Regions from separate parts of the Homo sapiens genome. Here region 1 is linked to region 2. The links are contacts of gene promoters, found by promoter capture Hi-C in human tissues and cell types (Jung and others, 2019). All regions are on one chromosome and are shown on one strand. The core of a region is centred on a gene start or on the middle of the fragment in contact, and the rest is flanking DNA. Distances in the headings are between cores, read along the strand shown. Region 1 overlaps AGBL4 (AGBL carboxypeptidase 4). Region 2 holds the start of SPATA6 (spermatogenesis associated 6).

What was found. Contacts are between HindIII fragments. The study calls those that stand out against the background at their distance.
Region 1: a contact is called between a fragment that was not itself captured here and the fragment with the promoter of SPATA6 in region 2, in 1 of the 25 tissues and cell types used here (mesendoderm cells).

Annotation. Positions count from the first base shown.
Region 1 is chr1:48,526,656-48,533,500 of GRCh38, reverse strand. AGBL4 (AGBL carboxypeptidase 4) reads left to right here. Exons shown (of 14, transcript NM_032785.4): 14 at 1-647. Among named protein-coding and RNA genes, the nearest start is that of SPATA6, 58 kb to the right of the region's middle. RefSeq lists an enhancer at 6,775-6,845. The HindIII fragment of the contact is 7,029 bases long and covers 1-6,352 here.
Region 2 is chr1:48,470,920-48,478,036 of GRCh38, reverse strand. It overlaps SPATA6 (spermatogenesis associated 6), which reads left to right and starts at 5,833. Exons shown (of 13, transcript NM_019073.4): 1 at 5,833-6,079. The coding sequence starts at 6,029. It overlaps LOC124904175 (a long non-coding RNA gene), which reads right to left. Exons shown (of 2, transcript XR_007066074.1): 1 at 7,085-7,117. RefSeq lists an enhancer at 5,502-5,551 and a silencer at 5,762-6,151. The HindIII fragment of the contact is 25,705 bases long and covers 1-7,117 here.

The sequences.
Region 1 (6,845 bases), core at 1,589-4,088, 58 kb before region 2:
TGGTCACTCATTTTAAAAGGTTTATTATGGTTAAGGTCTCCAGATCCCAGGTGACAGGGATTAAGCCTGGCCCCTGAAGATGTAGGCATTGCTAATCTGCAATGAGGAAAGGGTGATTGCCAGGCAAGGAAGATGCAAAAGACAGAAGGATGCACCCTGAGGCAGGGAGGAATGATAAAATAAAACAGTAGTAGCAATTCCCAAGGTGTGGCAAGCTAAATATTGGCATTTTTGTGAAGAGTAAAGTGCCTTTGTATGATGAATGGGTCCAGGGGGGTCTGCTCCCTTCCTGTCTGTGGAAACAGCAGGCTGAGTCACCATGACAGCCTGCTAATTAAAATGACCTCCCGGAAATGAGGATTAGAACACAGGGAGAGGAAGGGAGGCTCCAGGGAGGAAAATCCCTTAGCACAGAGCTCCACTAAAGCATTTTTTGTTTGTTTGTTTGTTTGTTTGTTTGTTTGAGTTGGAGATTATTGAAGTTTGCTACAAAAATCAAAAAGAAAACTTGTTCTCCTTTGCATGCTAGTTTTCAGAAATGATGACAAAGAGCCATATGTTGATTGGCTACAAATGTCATGTTGTATATACAGCTTCTCCCCTGGGTTCGTTTTGCCCAGAGGAACACAAATAAAGTGTTTTGTGCAGCTCCTCTGTTCCTCTGAGCATTCTTGGCACCTTTCCCTTTCAGTCCCCACTACTCAAGAACCAACAGGCAAACCCCAAAACTGATATAACCCTGACTTTGAGGTCAGGGACTTTGTTTTCAAAATAAGGGACAACAGTCAAGTCTTGATTTCCAGCAGTTCCCGTGTCAAAGTCCTGGGGAGTTTAATTGACTGCAACCAGCTTGGCATGCACCAAGAGTGTATCAGCCTTTTGGAAATGATAGCATCATTTTAGATAGCATGAAAAGAGGCAGATTGCATAAGATGAGAGAGGCAATAGTCTAGATCCATGTTTCCTTGGCCAGGTCACTTCCATAATGTGATCACATATTGGCCCATATAGTTAAAACTACATTGATTAATTGGATCATAGACTACACAAACAGCAGGTATAATGATTATTTAAGAGCAAAAACTTGGAGCCAGGCAACTTTGGGTTCTAATTCTGCATTCAAACCCTACTTCTATTTCTTTAATAAAACTGTGTGATCTTAGGCAAGTTATTTAACATCTCTAGATCTTAGTTTCCTCACCTGAAAGATGGTCATAGTAATATCTACCTTGTTATAATAGTTATGAAAGTTTAATGAACTTACGTGTGGAAAATGTAGGCAAAAATATTTATGTGCTCACTAAATGGTAGCTGTGATCATTTGGAATATGACTAGGAAAGTGAGGTATCTGCAAATCCTTCCCCATTAGAAAGGAATGAGGAGACTGGAGCAGTTTATTGTTTAAAATAAAAAATAGGCCGGGTGCGGTGGCTCACACCTGTAATCCCAACACTTTGGGAAGCTGAGGCGGGAGAATCACCTGAGGTCAGGAGTTCGAGACCAGCCTGGCCAACATGGAGAAAGCCCGTCTCTACTAAAAATACAAAAATTAGCCAGGCGTGGTGGCACGCACCTGTAATCCCAGCTACTCAGGAGGCTGGGGCAGGAGAATTGCTTGAACCTGGGAGGTGAAGGTTGCAGTGAGCCAATGAGCCATGATCATGCCACCGCACTCCAGCCTGGGTGACAGAGTGAGACTCTGGCTGAAATAAATAAATACATACATACATACATACATACATAATAAGAGGGAGTGGGAATAGGAAAGAAAGATCACAGTCTCCAAAAAGCTAAACAGACATCATTGGACAAAAGAAGCAAACTTGTTCTGTGCTGCCAAACAAGTTTATTACCTCTCCTGGATTTGGAGAGGTAATAACCAAATCCAGGGAGTGAGTCTCAGTAAGACAGATTTCTGCTCAGGATGAGGAAAACCTTCTAGTGAATTGAATTGCCAACCACTGGATGGGTTCCTTTGGAAGACCATGAACTCCCCATCACCACAGGTGTGCAAGAAGAATCTGAACGAACATCTGTCTGGGAGGAAATAGAGGGGACTCCCTCTCTAGGGGGATGCTGGGTTGGAAGCTGAATGCTCCGAAGCATCACCTCATGTCATTTCTCTGGACTGAAATGACATGGGACAGGATGTTACATTTCTGGATGTCAGCAAATGGAGTGTACAGTATAGTTAGTACTTAATGCTAGACACAGTGATATGAACTGTCTCTGAATTACAGCATATATGGACTCTGATAAAATTTCCCATTCCTTGAGAGAGAGAGAGAGAGAAAAAAAAAAGCTGGCTATAAGGCAGCCTGTAGGAGGGTGTGTTTGCAAGATGACTGTCTGCTTTTCCACATTGGCAGAGCAGAAAAAAAGGACTGAGCAAGAGCCCAGGGGTTGTCAGCAGCCCTCTGTGTGGTCTTGGCCTGCTTAGCTTCTCCTTAGCTTTCTTGAACAAGGTTATACCTATGACCTCAAGCTAGAGGGGAAAGGTTTTCAGCACTGAGATGGAGGACAGCACCAAGAGGTGTACAACCCGCCAGAGGCTACTAGCCCACCTGGCTCCAGCAGGGGGCGCACCAGCCTATCTTCTTGTCCAGCCAGGTCTGTCTCAGATTAGAGCCACAGGTGGGTGGAGCTGGCCACCAAAGCAGTGTTCTGTGCATTTCCAAGGAGACAGACAACTATGCAAAAAGTAGGGGTGAGAAGGAGAGGGATCATGACAGGTCTCAACCTGGCTCTCACACAACTCTCCATACTGATGCAGTGCTAGTTTTGCTCTGTATCAGTTCAGAGGTGCAGAGACAGGACTAAAAGTCTGTTTACCCTCAAGCTGCAGCAGACAAACTGGAGGTTACCCAGTTTCTTCGTTGCTAAGCCCCCAGCAGAGGAGGTTGGTGATAATGTTTGCTTTGCGGCAGCCAACAGTGAGCCTTTGTCTAGAAGCTTTTTCTATTGCCTTTTAAATGGAGGCGGGGCGGTAAACACAGAAAGAACTAGTATCCTTTCACTGTAACTCAACTGACACACCTGAGACCTGCCTTAGAGAACCCAACTCATTTTTCTACATAGTAAGAACAGAGCCAACTATGGAAGTGTAAGCTGATTAACATTTGTGCAGCATCGATTCATACATCCAGATGTTTACTGAACATATACTGTGTGTCAGGTGTAGTTCTAGATCCCTTTGTATCCATTGCCTTATTCAATGTTCCCAACAGTCCTATCAGGTAAGTATCATTTTCTACACTTCGAAGATGAGAAAAAATGAGAACCCTAAAGGTAAACACCTTTTTTTTACACCCATGTGGCTAGTGAGAACCTGGATTCAAACACTGCTCCCCTTCCACTACTTTGTGCTGGGCCTTATCCATTTGTCTCCAGGTAAAATCAGGTCAAAAAAAGAAACAGGTTAAAGCAGAATAACAAGTAAACAATGGCATCATTTAGAGGTAGTGGGGGATAGGGAGAGGGGAAGGAAGCATGTTAAGTTTACAGGCTGGGAAAAATGTGTAATGATTTCAGGACTTTTTAGCACTTGCTGCTGAAGCCCTGCCTTCTTCCTATCTCTCATTCCCACACACCTGTCTGACCTTCTTCTAGGCACTCCAGAGTCCTCCAGAGAGCAGCGTTTAGGCAAGGGGCCCATTTATCCCTTGACATGCAGAGGGCCCCTGGAATCTCAGCAGGGTTGTTGGACCCATCGTGACACTCTCTGGGTTACTGGCCCCAAGCAGATAATCTAGCTCTGGTTCCCTATCACTTCCTCCATCTGGGGTATGCGAAATAAGCCTACTATGTCCCTCATTTCTTGTTCGGAATTCTTCCTCTAAGTTCCTGCCTTCTGAGCACTAAAGAAGTCTGGTACCTTTTGGCTGAGCTCAGCCAAAGGGGCATCAGGGCCACAAAGCAGAGGGGAGACATAACGTAATAGGAACAGCCCGAGTTTAAAGTCAGGCCAACCTGAGTGTGAATCCCAGCTCTTCTGTTAAGCTGTATGGCTTTGGGCAAATAATGTAATCTCTTTAAGTCTCGGGATCCTCATCTGTAAAATGAACTGAATAATATCTACTTCCTATATTTATGGTGAGAATTGAATATAATAACATCTATAAAATACCTGGAACTGAGAAAAACTCTTTTCTCAAGCCATCTTCACCCCTGCTCTGCCTCTCATCTGCTTGCTAGAGTTGGAAATCCCTTCTCTAGAGCCAAAGCTTTTCTTCTCCCCAGATGACGTACAGACAGAAGTACAAATGCTTCTTGAGTAGAGGACAAGAGTGAGAGGAGTGTCCAGAAGAAAGGCAGTCACACTGAGGGATCAGTGTCAAGCCAGGGACCTAGGTTTTATTCATCTCTGTAGTCTTAGCACTTAACACAGATTACGTAGCAGAGTCTGTGCTCACTGAGTGTGGAATGAATAAATAGTGGGTATGGTGAGAGTGAGGTCACCCAAAAACCCTGAACCCTTGAGGGAGGGGAAAGAGGCTTTGGAAGTTGGGACTCTGAACAAATGGGAAGACAGTGTTGAACATGATATTCACCCAGCCTCATGTGAGGCTGAAATAACTAGACTAAAAAGAGAAGGGGGAAATAGATTCTACAAGATACCATGTTTTGTCAAAATCATAGCAAACAAATCTTACCAGGATACATACAAAACTTTTTTTATGTTACTTTGATTGGCATGCAACATCTCAGGGATCATCTTTATGAAGTAATCATACAGATCTTCTCTGCCAGCTGAAATTCAGGACTCCCCCAAGGCACTCACATATCTGTCTTCATACACCAAATTCAGGTGGTGTGCTGGTCAGGGCTTATTTTCTCAACTTTGCAGATGAAGAAATTCAGATTAGTGTGATTAATCTCATGCCCGTGGTCCACAGCCAGTAAGTAACTAGGACAGGATGTGGACCCTGGATACAAACACAACTCTACCACACCTCTCTGTCTCTCGGTTCAGCCCCAGACCTCGACACTAAGCCCGAACAAGTCAGAAAGTCATCCTAATGATGCCTATTATAACTCCTTAGTGCTTAAAATTTACTTGTTCCCCTAAAGACCTGGGATCTATTTTTAGCTGACCCCATGTCAATCTTAAGTCCAAATCTGCTTCTCTCCCTGGCATCAGCTGCCTTGGTTAATATTCTCTTTTTCCATCTAATTGCTCAGGTTGGAAGCCCTGCCCTTGCCTTAACTCCTTTATGTCTTTCTCCCCACACAGCTGACCAACCACCACGTCCCATTGCTTCTGCCTCTTTGGTGTGTCTGCCTTCAGGTAGTATTATGGAGTGACTCTGAGTCAGATAGACCTGAATTTTAATTTCAGCTCCACCGCTTGCTAATCATCTTATAAATCATTTAGAGCAGTTTACTTGCCCCATCTCTAAAATGGGACAATAATGCCTATTGGCAGGTTTGTTGTGCATTTCCCTCCCTCTATCCTTTCCATGCTTTCCCTCCTAGCCACTCCCACCATTATTTCCTACCTGGATTGCTGGAATGGCCTCCCTGTCTCCAGATGCTCTCCTGTTAACCCATTCCCTGCTTAGAAGCTTCCAGGAGCTCCATAAAACATGACCCCATTTTATGGTACTTCTTTCAAATTAACTGTCCAAGCCAGGAGCCTGGATATCATCCGACTTTTGTGTCTTTCACGCCCCATTTCTGTTCAATTGCCAAATCCCACTGGTTATTCCTGCTTGTTCTCTCTAATTTCCAGCCAACATCTCTGTTCCTCTTAACTAAGAAAATCCTTCTCATCATTCAAGACTTAGCTCATGTGTCCCAACTTCATGATATCCTCCCAGTCTTAGCAGTTGTCATTAATTGCTTTCTTTTCTCGGTTGCCCTAACACTTTGCTTATTCATCTGTTTATCAATTTTTTTTTTTTTTTGAGATGGAGTCTTGCTGTCACTAGGCTGGAGTACAGTGGCACGATCTCAGCTCACTGCAATCTCTGCCTCCTGGGTTCAAGCAATTCTCCTGCCTCAGCGTCCTGAGTAGCTGGGACTACAGGCGCGCACCAACACGCCCAGTTAATTTTTGTATTTTTTTAGTAGAGACAGGGTTTCACCATGTTGGCCAGGATTGTCCTGATCTCCTGACCTCGTGATCCACCCACCCCGGGCTTCCCAAAGTGCTGGGATTACAGGCGTGAGCTGTTGCGCCAGGCCTGTTTATTAATTATTTCACTCAGCTGATTGTCACCTCCCCCACTATCATTTAATGTCTTTGGGGGCAAAGTTCAGGTTTTATTTGTCTTCACACCTCCCATAGAACCTAATGGTTCCAGACAGGTCAGAGGCACTCAGTAACTACAGCAGAATAAAAGAAAGAATGAACAAAATCTCAAATCGAAAATTCTATCCTGACCTCACCCTGATAACTGAATCCTAATTATGGCTTTATCTTCCCAAAGCCTCAACCTCTCTGAGACATTCCACAGCTCAGATTTCCTCTATGGCTTCCTTTACTTACAGAATTAAGCTCCAACTCAGCATTAAAGGCAGCATAGTATGGTAGAGTGCTTTAGACTTAGAGTCAGCGGTCCTGGATGATCTTCATGGCCCCAGGGTCCATGGAGAGATGAAGGAGACAGATTTACTTAATCCTCCAACAGTTTCCTGAAAGCTAAATTCTTTTTCACAGCCCAAGGCAATTAGATCCTTTTTTCTATAACAATAAACATCATAACAATTGTTGCTGGTGTGGTTATAACTACTACTTCTGCTGTTGCTATTACTACTAGTAAAAACATTGCTGTTGCTATTACTGCTACTGCTGCTTCTATTACTAATCTACTTCTACTGTTATTCCCATTACTACTCCACT
Region 2 (7,117 bases), core at 4,584-7,083:
CAGCTGGACTATTTGAGGAACTTGATAAAATTACTCTAAAATAAAAAGAAGCAATGAAGGATCACAAATAGCTAAATCTATCTCCTAAAAAAGGAGACTTGCCAAACAGAAGCCATAGTAATAAATAGAAGCAGTGTGGTACTGTTGCAAGAATAGACAAATAGAAGACTGGAACAGAAGAGCAAGGTTGAAATCAGAACTTTGGTAGTTAATACATAAGAAAGGTAGCACCACAAATCAATGAGGGGAAGCATAGAATGTTTAGTAGGTATTGTTGGAAAATCTAGCATACATTTTTAAAGGGGAAAACAACAACAACAAGAAAGTGAATCCTGGATTACTGTTTAACGTCATGTACAAAAATTGAGTCTTAATAGATTAAACATCAAAATGTGAAAGGTAAACTATAAAGTTAATATAAGAAAACAGAAAATACAGTATGTTTGAATCTGGGGACTAGGAAAACTGTTCATTTGTTTGTTTATTTTGAGACAGGGTTCTGTTACCCAAGCTGCAGTGCAGTGGCACAAACATCGCTCACTGCAGACCCCACCTCCTGGGCTCAAGCAATCCTACCTTAGCCTCCCAAGTAGCTGGGACCACAGGCATGAGCCACCATACCCAGCTAATTTTGGGAAGACTTACTAAAATGTTAAAAACACAACACAAATATAAGGCAAAAATGATTGATTTACATCGAAGTTAGGTTACTTCTATGAACGAAAGTACACCCTAATGGCCGGGTGCAGTGGTTCACGCCTGTAATCCCACCACTTTGGGAGGCCGAGGTGGGTGGTTCCCTTGAGCCCAGGAGTTTGAGACCAGCTTGGACAACATGGTGAAGCCTCATCTCTACAAAAAATGCAGAAATTAGCCAGGCGCTATGGTGCACGTTTGTAGTCCCAGCTACTTGGAAGGTTGAGGCAGGATTATCATTTGAGCTAGGGTGTATTAGTCCATTTTCATGCTACTGATAAAGACATACCTGAGACTGGGAAGAAAAAGAGGTTTACTTGGACTTACAATTCCACATGGCTGTGGAGGCCTCAGAATTCCACGTGGCTGGGGAGGCCTCAGAATCATGGCAGAGGCAAAAGGAACTTTTTCTTTTTTTTATTTTATACTTTAAGTTCTGGGATACATGTGTAGAACGTGCAGTCTTGTTACATAGCTAGTATACACATGCCATGGTGGTTTGCTGCACCCATCAACCCATCAGGTACATTAGGTATTTCTCCTAATGCTATCCCTCCCCTAGCCCCCCACCCCCCGACAGGCCCCGGTGTGTGATGTTCCCCTCCCTGTGTCCATGTGTTCTCATTGTTCAGCTCCCACTTATGAGTGACAACATGCGGTGTTTGGTTTTCCGTTCTTGTGTTAGTTTGCTGAGAATGATGGTTTCCAGCTTCATCCATGTCACTGCAGAGGACATGAACTCATCAAAAGGCACTTCTTACTTGGCAGCGGCAAGAGAAAATGAGGAAGATGCAAAAGCAGAAACCTCTAATAAAACTATCAGATCTCATGAGACTTATTCACTACCACAAGAACAGTATGGGGGAAACAGCCCCCATCATTCAAATTATCTCCCACTGGGTCCCTCCCATAACATGTGGGAATTATGGGAGTACAATTCAAGATGAGATTTGAGTGGGGACGCAGCCAAACCATATCATTCTTTCCCTGGCCCCTTCAAATCTCATGTCCTCACATTTCAAAACCAATCATGCCTTCCCAACAGTCCCCCAAAGTCTTAACTCATTTCAGCATTAACCCAAAAGTCCACACTGAGACAAGGCAAGTCCCTTTTGCCTATGAGCCAGTAAAATCAAAAGCAAGCTATTTACTTCCTGGATATGATTTGGGTACAGGTATTGGGTAAATACAGTCATTCCAAATGAGGGAAATTGGCCAAAACATAGGAGTTACAGGGCCCATGCAAGTCCAATGTCCAGCGAGGCTGTCAAATCTTACAGCTTCAAAATGATCTCCTTTGACTCCAAGGTCTCACATCCAGGTCACGCTGATGCAAGACGTGTGTTCCCATGGTCTTGGGAAGCTCTACCCCTGTGGCTTTGCAGGGTACAGCCTCCCTCCCAGCTGCTTTCACAGGCTGGTATTGAGTGTCTGTGGCTTTTCCAGGTGAATTGTGCAAGCTGTTGGTGGATCTACCATTCTGGGGTCTGGAGAACAGTGGCCCTCTTCTCACAGCTCCACTAGGTGGTGCCCCAGTAGGGACACTGTATGGGGGCTCCCAACCCCACATTTCCCTTCTTCACTGCCCTTGCACAGGTTCTCCATGAGGGCCCCACTCCTGCAACAAACTTCTGCCTGGGCATCCAAGTGTTTCCACATGTCTTCTGAAATCTAGGTGGAGGTTCCTAAACCCCAGTTCTTGACTCTGTGTACTTGCAGGCTCAACACCATGTGGAAGCTGCCAAGGCTTGGGGATTGCATCCCCTGAAGCCACAGCCCTATCTCTATGTTGGCCCCTTACAGCCATGGCTGGAGCAGCTGGGACGCAGGGCACCAAGTCCCTAGGCTGCACACAGCATGGGGACCCTGGGCCTAGCGCATGACACCATTTTCTCCTAGGCCTCGGGGCCTGTGATGGGAGAGGCTGCCGTGAAGCCCTCTGACATGGCCTGGAGACATTTTTTCCATGGTCTGGGGGATTAACATTTGGCTCCCCATTACTTGTGCAAATTTCTGCAGCCAACTTGAATTTCTCCTCAGAAAATGGGTTTTCCATTTCTATCGCATTATCAGGCTGCAAATTTTCCAAACTTTTATGCTATTCTTCCCTTATAATACTGAATGCCTTTAACAGCACCCAAGTCACATCTTGAATGATTTGTTGCTTAGAATTTTTTTCTGCCAGATACCCTAAATCACCTCTCTCAAGTTCAAAGTTCCACAAATGTCTAGGGCAGGGGCCAAATGCCCCCAGTCTCTTTGCTAAAACATAACAAGAGTCACTTTTGCTTCAGTTGCCAATAAGTTCCTCATCTCCACCTAAGACCACTTCAGCCTGGACCTTATTGTCCATGTGGCTATCAGGCTTTTGGCCAAAGCCATTCAACAAGTCCCTAGGAAGTTCCAAAGTTTCCCACATTTTCCTGTCTTCTGAGCCCTCCAAATTGTTCCAACCTCTCCCTGTTACCCAGTTCCAAAGTCGCTTCCACATTTTCGGATATCTTTTCAGCAACACCCACTCTACTGATACCAATTTACTGTATTAGCTCATTTTCATGTTGCTGATAAAGACACACCCAAGACTGGAAAGGAAAAAAGGTTTAATTGGACTTGCAGTTCCACAGGGAGGGGAGGCCTCGGAATCATGCCAGGAGGCAAAAGGCACTTCTTACATGTGGCAGAAAGAGAAAACAAGAAGATACAAAAGCGGAAACCCCTGATAAAACCATCAGATCTTGTGAGACTTATTCACTACCATGAGAACAGTATGGGGGAAACCACCCCCAAGACTCAAATTATTTCCCACCAGGTCCCTCCCACAACACATGGGAATTATGGGAGTACAATTCAAGATGAGATTTGGGTGGGGACACAGCCAAACCATATCACTGGGTAAGCAGAGGTTGCTGTGGGCCGAGATTGTGCTAGTGCACTCCAGAGCCTGGGTGACGGGTAAAACCCTGTCAAAAACAAAACAAAACAAAAAACACCCAAAAAACCCCAAAACAAAACAAAATCCTGGGCAAAGTTCATAAAAATACCATAAAGAGAGAAGATTTTTGTAGTGTCTTAGAATTAATTTATTAACTAACCAGAATACACAAAATTCCTAAAAAAAAGACAAAAATCCTGATAGAATATGGGGTAAAGCATTATGAGCAGATGATTTTTAGTAAAGATAGAAAATCTTATAAGCATATACAGACATGCTCAGACTCATCAGTAATCTGAAAAATTCAATAGTGAGATAACACTTTACATCTGTTATGTTGGGGGAAAACAAGAACCCTTGATAATGCCAAGCCTGGGAAGAATGTGGGGCCATAGTAACCTTCGAATATTGGGAGCATAGACTGGTATGGCATTCTGGATAGCAACTTGGAATTATATGGTCAAACTGAGAATACTCATACTCCATGACAACAATTTATCTTCTGTTCATCACAGACTATATGTAAAATTAAAATACAAACACAAAGTGGAAAGGATATTTGCAACATATAGAGTAGACATATAATTATTATCCAGAGTATATAAAGAACTGAGAGAGAGACCAACAGAAAAGGGGGCAAGATAACTACTTGGCAGTTCAATAAGAGATAATGGAAAGGCTAACAAAACCAAAGGTACTCAACCTCAACAGTACCCAGAGATTCAAGATAAAACCACAATGAAATACCTAAAATACACACATCCAAATATACAAAAGTTAAAAATCCAAACACAAATGTTGCTGATGATGTGGAAAAATAAGAACTCTTATACATAAGCACCAGAAACATAAATAGGTACACTACTTTGGAAAATGGTGTGGTCTTACTTTTTAAAGACCCACATGTGCAAAACCCTAATACCCAGCTAACCCACTCCTACGCTAGTACATGTGCATTAATAGACACAGACTTGTACTACAATGTTCACAACATTGTTAATAATAGCTAAAAATGAAAACAGTGTAAGTGATCATTGATAGTAGGAAGGATAAATCAATCTATATTGGAATACTGTCCAGCAATGGAAAAAACTTCAGCTACACAGCATCACCGGTGGCATAATATTAAGTGGGAGAAGCAAATCACAGAAGAATACATACAGTATTAATACCATTTATATACTATCAATACCGGAAAACATTAAACAATATCTTGTTTAGAAATGCATACATGAATGGCAAAAGGAAGAGAATTATTGTACAAAAGTCAGGGTAGTGGTTACTCCAGGGCGAGAAAGGCAATGTAATCGTTGGGGGCATTTTTCAGGTGCTGGTAATGTTTTATTTCTTAACCGGGTGCTAGTTGTACAGGTACTGTTCACATTATTATTAAGATAAACGTGTTTTATACACTTCTGCATGTATAATGTATTTTGCAATACAAATGATTTTTAACATGATTGGATTGGGCAATCTCTTAGGTTCTTTTTATCTTTGATGGTCTATTGTCAGGCCCTTCACAGCTGGACTTATTGTTGGCACCTCATTGACAGTTCCACTTAAGCAATATGCATTAAGACGCATACATGGGTGAATTAGACAGGAAAATTTGAAGGGAAAAGGGAACGCGCTAACAAAGGGAATCACAGAATAGGAGACTAGGAGTATGGACCATCTGATGCAAGCCCCTCTCCTCAGGGAGGCAACTGGGGTTTAACTTGAGAGCTCCTGGGTTCCAGTCCTGGTTCCGACTTTGATTTGGGCAAGTCTCTTCCCTAATTCCCAGTATCCTTATGCTGGCTTTGTAAACCGTGCCGTGAAATTTAAATAGGAGGACTAACAATAATTATTATTCTTTTACAATTGGGAAAACTGAGGCCACAGTGGGTCGCCACTAGCCCAAGGTGCCATCACCACGTTGTAACTCAGGGGTTCCCTCCGACGGCCTTACAGGAACTCCAACTCCCTGAACAGAGCACCGTCCCATTATACAAACAGCAGCTCCCTTTCGTCCGGCTTTGGGCGCAGTTTGACGTCACAGAAGAGCTGCCTTGCCTCACCCCGCCCCTTCGGAAGCCCCGCCCCCTGCCCGACTCCGCCTCGCTCGGCGTTCGTCAAGCTCCGCCTCCAGCGCTCGTCCCAGCGCGGGTAGCCCTGGAGTGCCCCGCGCGGCCTCTCTTCCGGCCCCGCCCCTCCTGGCTGCCATGACAACGAGTCTGCGCCCCGCGCTCAGCTGCTTCTCCGGCGGAACCCAGGCTGGACCGCGGGCCCCGGCCTGGGGGCCACTGCTGCCACCGCCGCCGCCACCTCGTCTCCTCCCCGTCCCCGCCCAGCCCCAGGTCTCCCCGCCTCACTCGGGCCCGTGGCCGGGGTCACTCCCCGCCGCCCCTCCCCGCACGGATGCCGAAGGTGAAGGCGCTGCAGTGCGCCCTGGCGCTGGAGATCAGCTCAGTGAGTACCGGTAGCGCCTCCCACCCCCGGGCATTGGCTCAGGGACTCCCTCAGTCACCTCCGAGAGCCCGGAACCACCCCCAAACCTCCTTCACCCTCCGAATCATCCCTAGGGAGCGTCGACCTCACGCCCCTTCGGTCCTGCCCCATCTTGTTCTCAGAAGCGCTCTCCCACTCCGGCCACGCAGAGGCCTGACCCCTGCTCCGCTATGCTGGCTTCAACCCGACTTCCAACTTGCGCGCTTTCAGATCGTTCCCAAATCACTTCAGAGTTCTTTCCTCGCTCCTAACTTTCCAGTGAGAGAGAGTGTATGTGCGCGGCGCGGGGGCTTTTCATTCCTCTTTCGGGCTCCAGTTCTCTTAGAGAATTATTGCCCCCGCCTTTCCCAAGTCTGGGGGTGGGCGTCGCATTTCCTCCCGAATCCCTGCAGGCACACCATTTCAGACCAGTTTCAAACCCGCATTAATGAAGGGGCCTTTCTTTATTCTGTCTTCGAAGGAGAATCTTCACATCCAACAACTGAAATGTGTCATTGCGCAAAGTACCTTGCCTTCCCTCCCAGGGCCTTACAGGAAAAACCCAACTCCTCAGAAATCACTTCAGGCCCCTCCCGTCCCCAGACCCTTCCGACTTTGTGCCAGCCATTGCAAGAAAGGCCCAGTCATTTTTATGAGGGAAACACCTCCTTCTCCAACCTTGCAACCCCACCCCTTCACTCTCCAGACTTGCTCAAGAGGATGCTTTCCTCCATCCTCCTGTGGAAGTCCAGCTGGGGCAGAGAACCCCACTCATCCAGTGAAGGGGCTGGACCTCTCCATGCTAGGAGAAAACTCTATTCCCCTTGTTGATCTCAGAAGACTTCCAAGGGTTTTGAACTTCTTCCCCTGCATTCTTTAGAGAACCCTCTCATTCCCCTGTTTAGAGGAATACTCCCGCTTGTCTGTTCTGGAGGAAATCTCCACAAGACCCTTTCCACACCCCGTTTTAGTCCTGCAGGCACAGACCTGTACGGAGTTTGGAACCAAAATTCACCATTC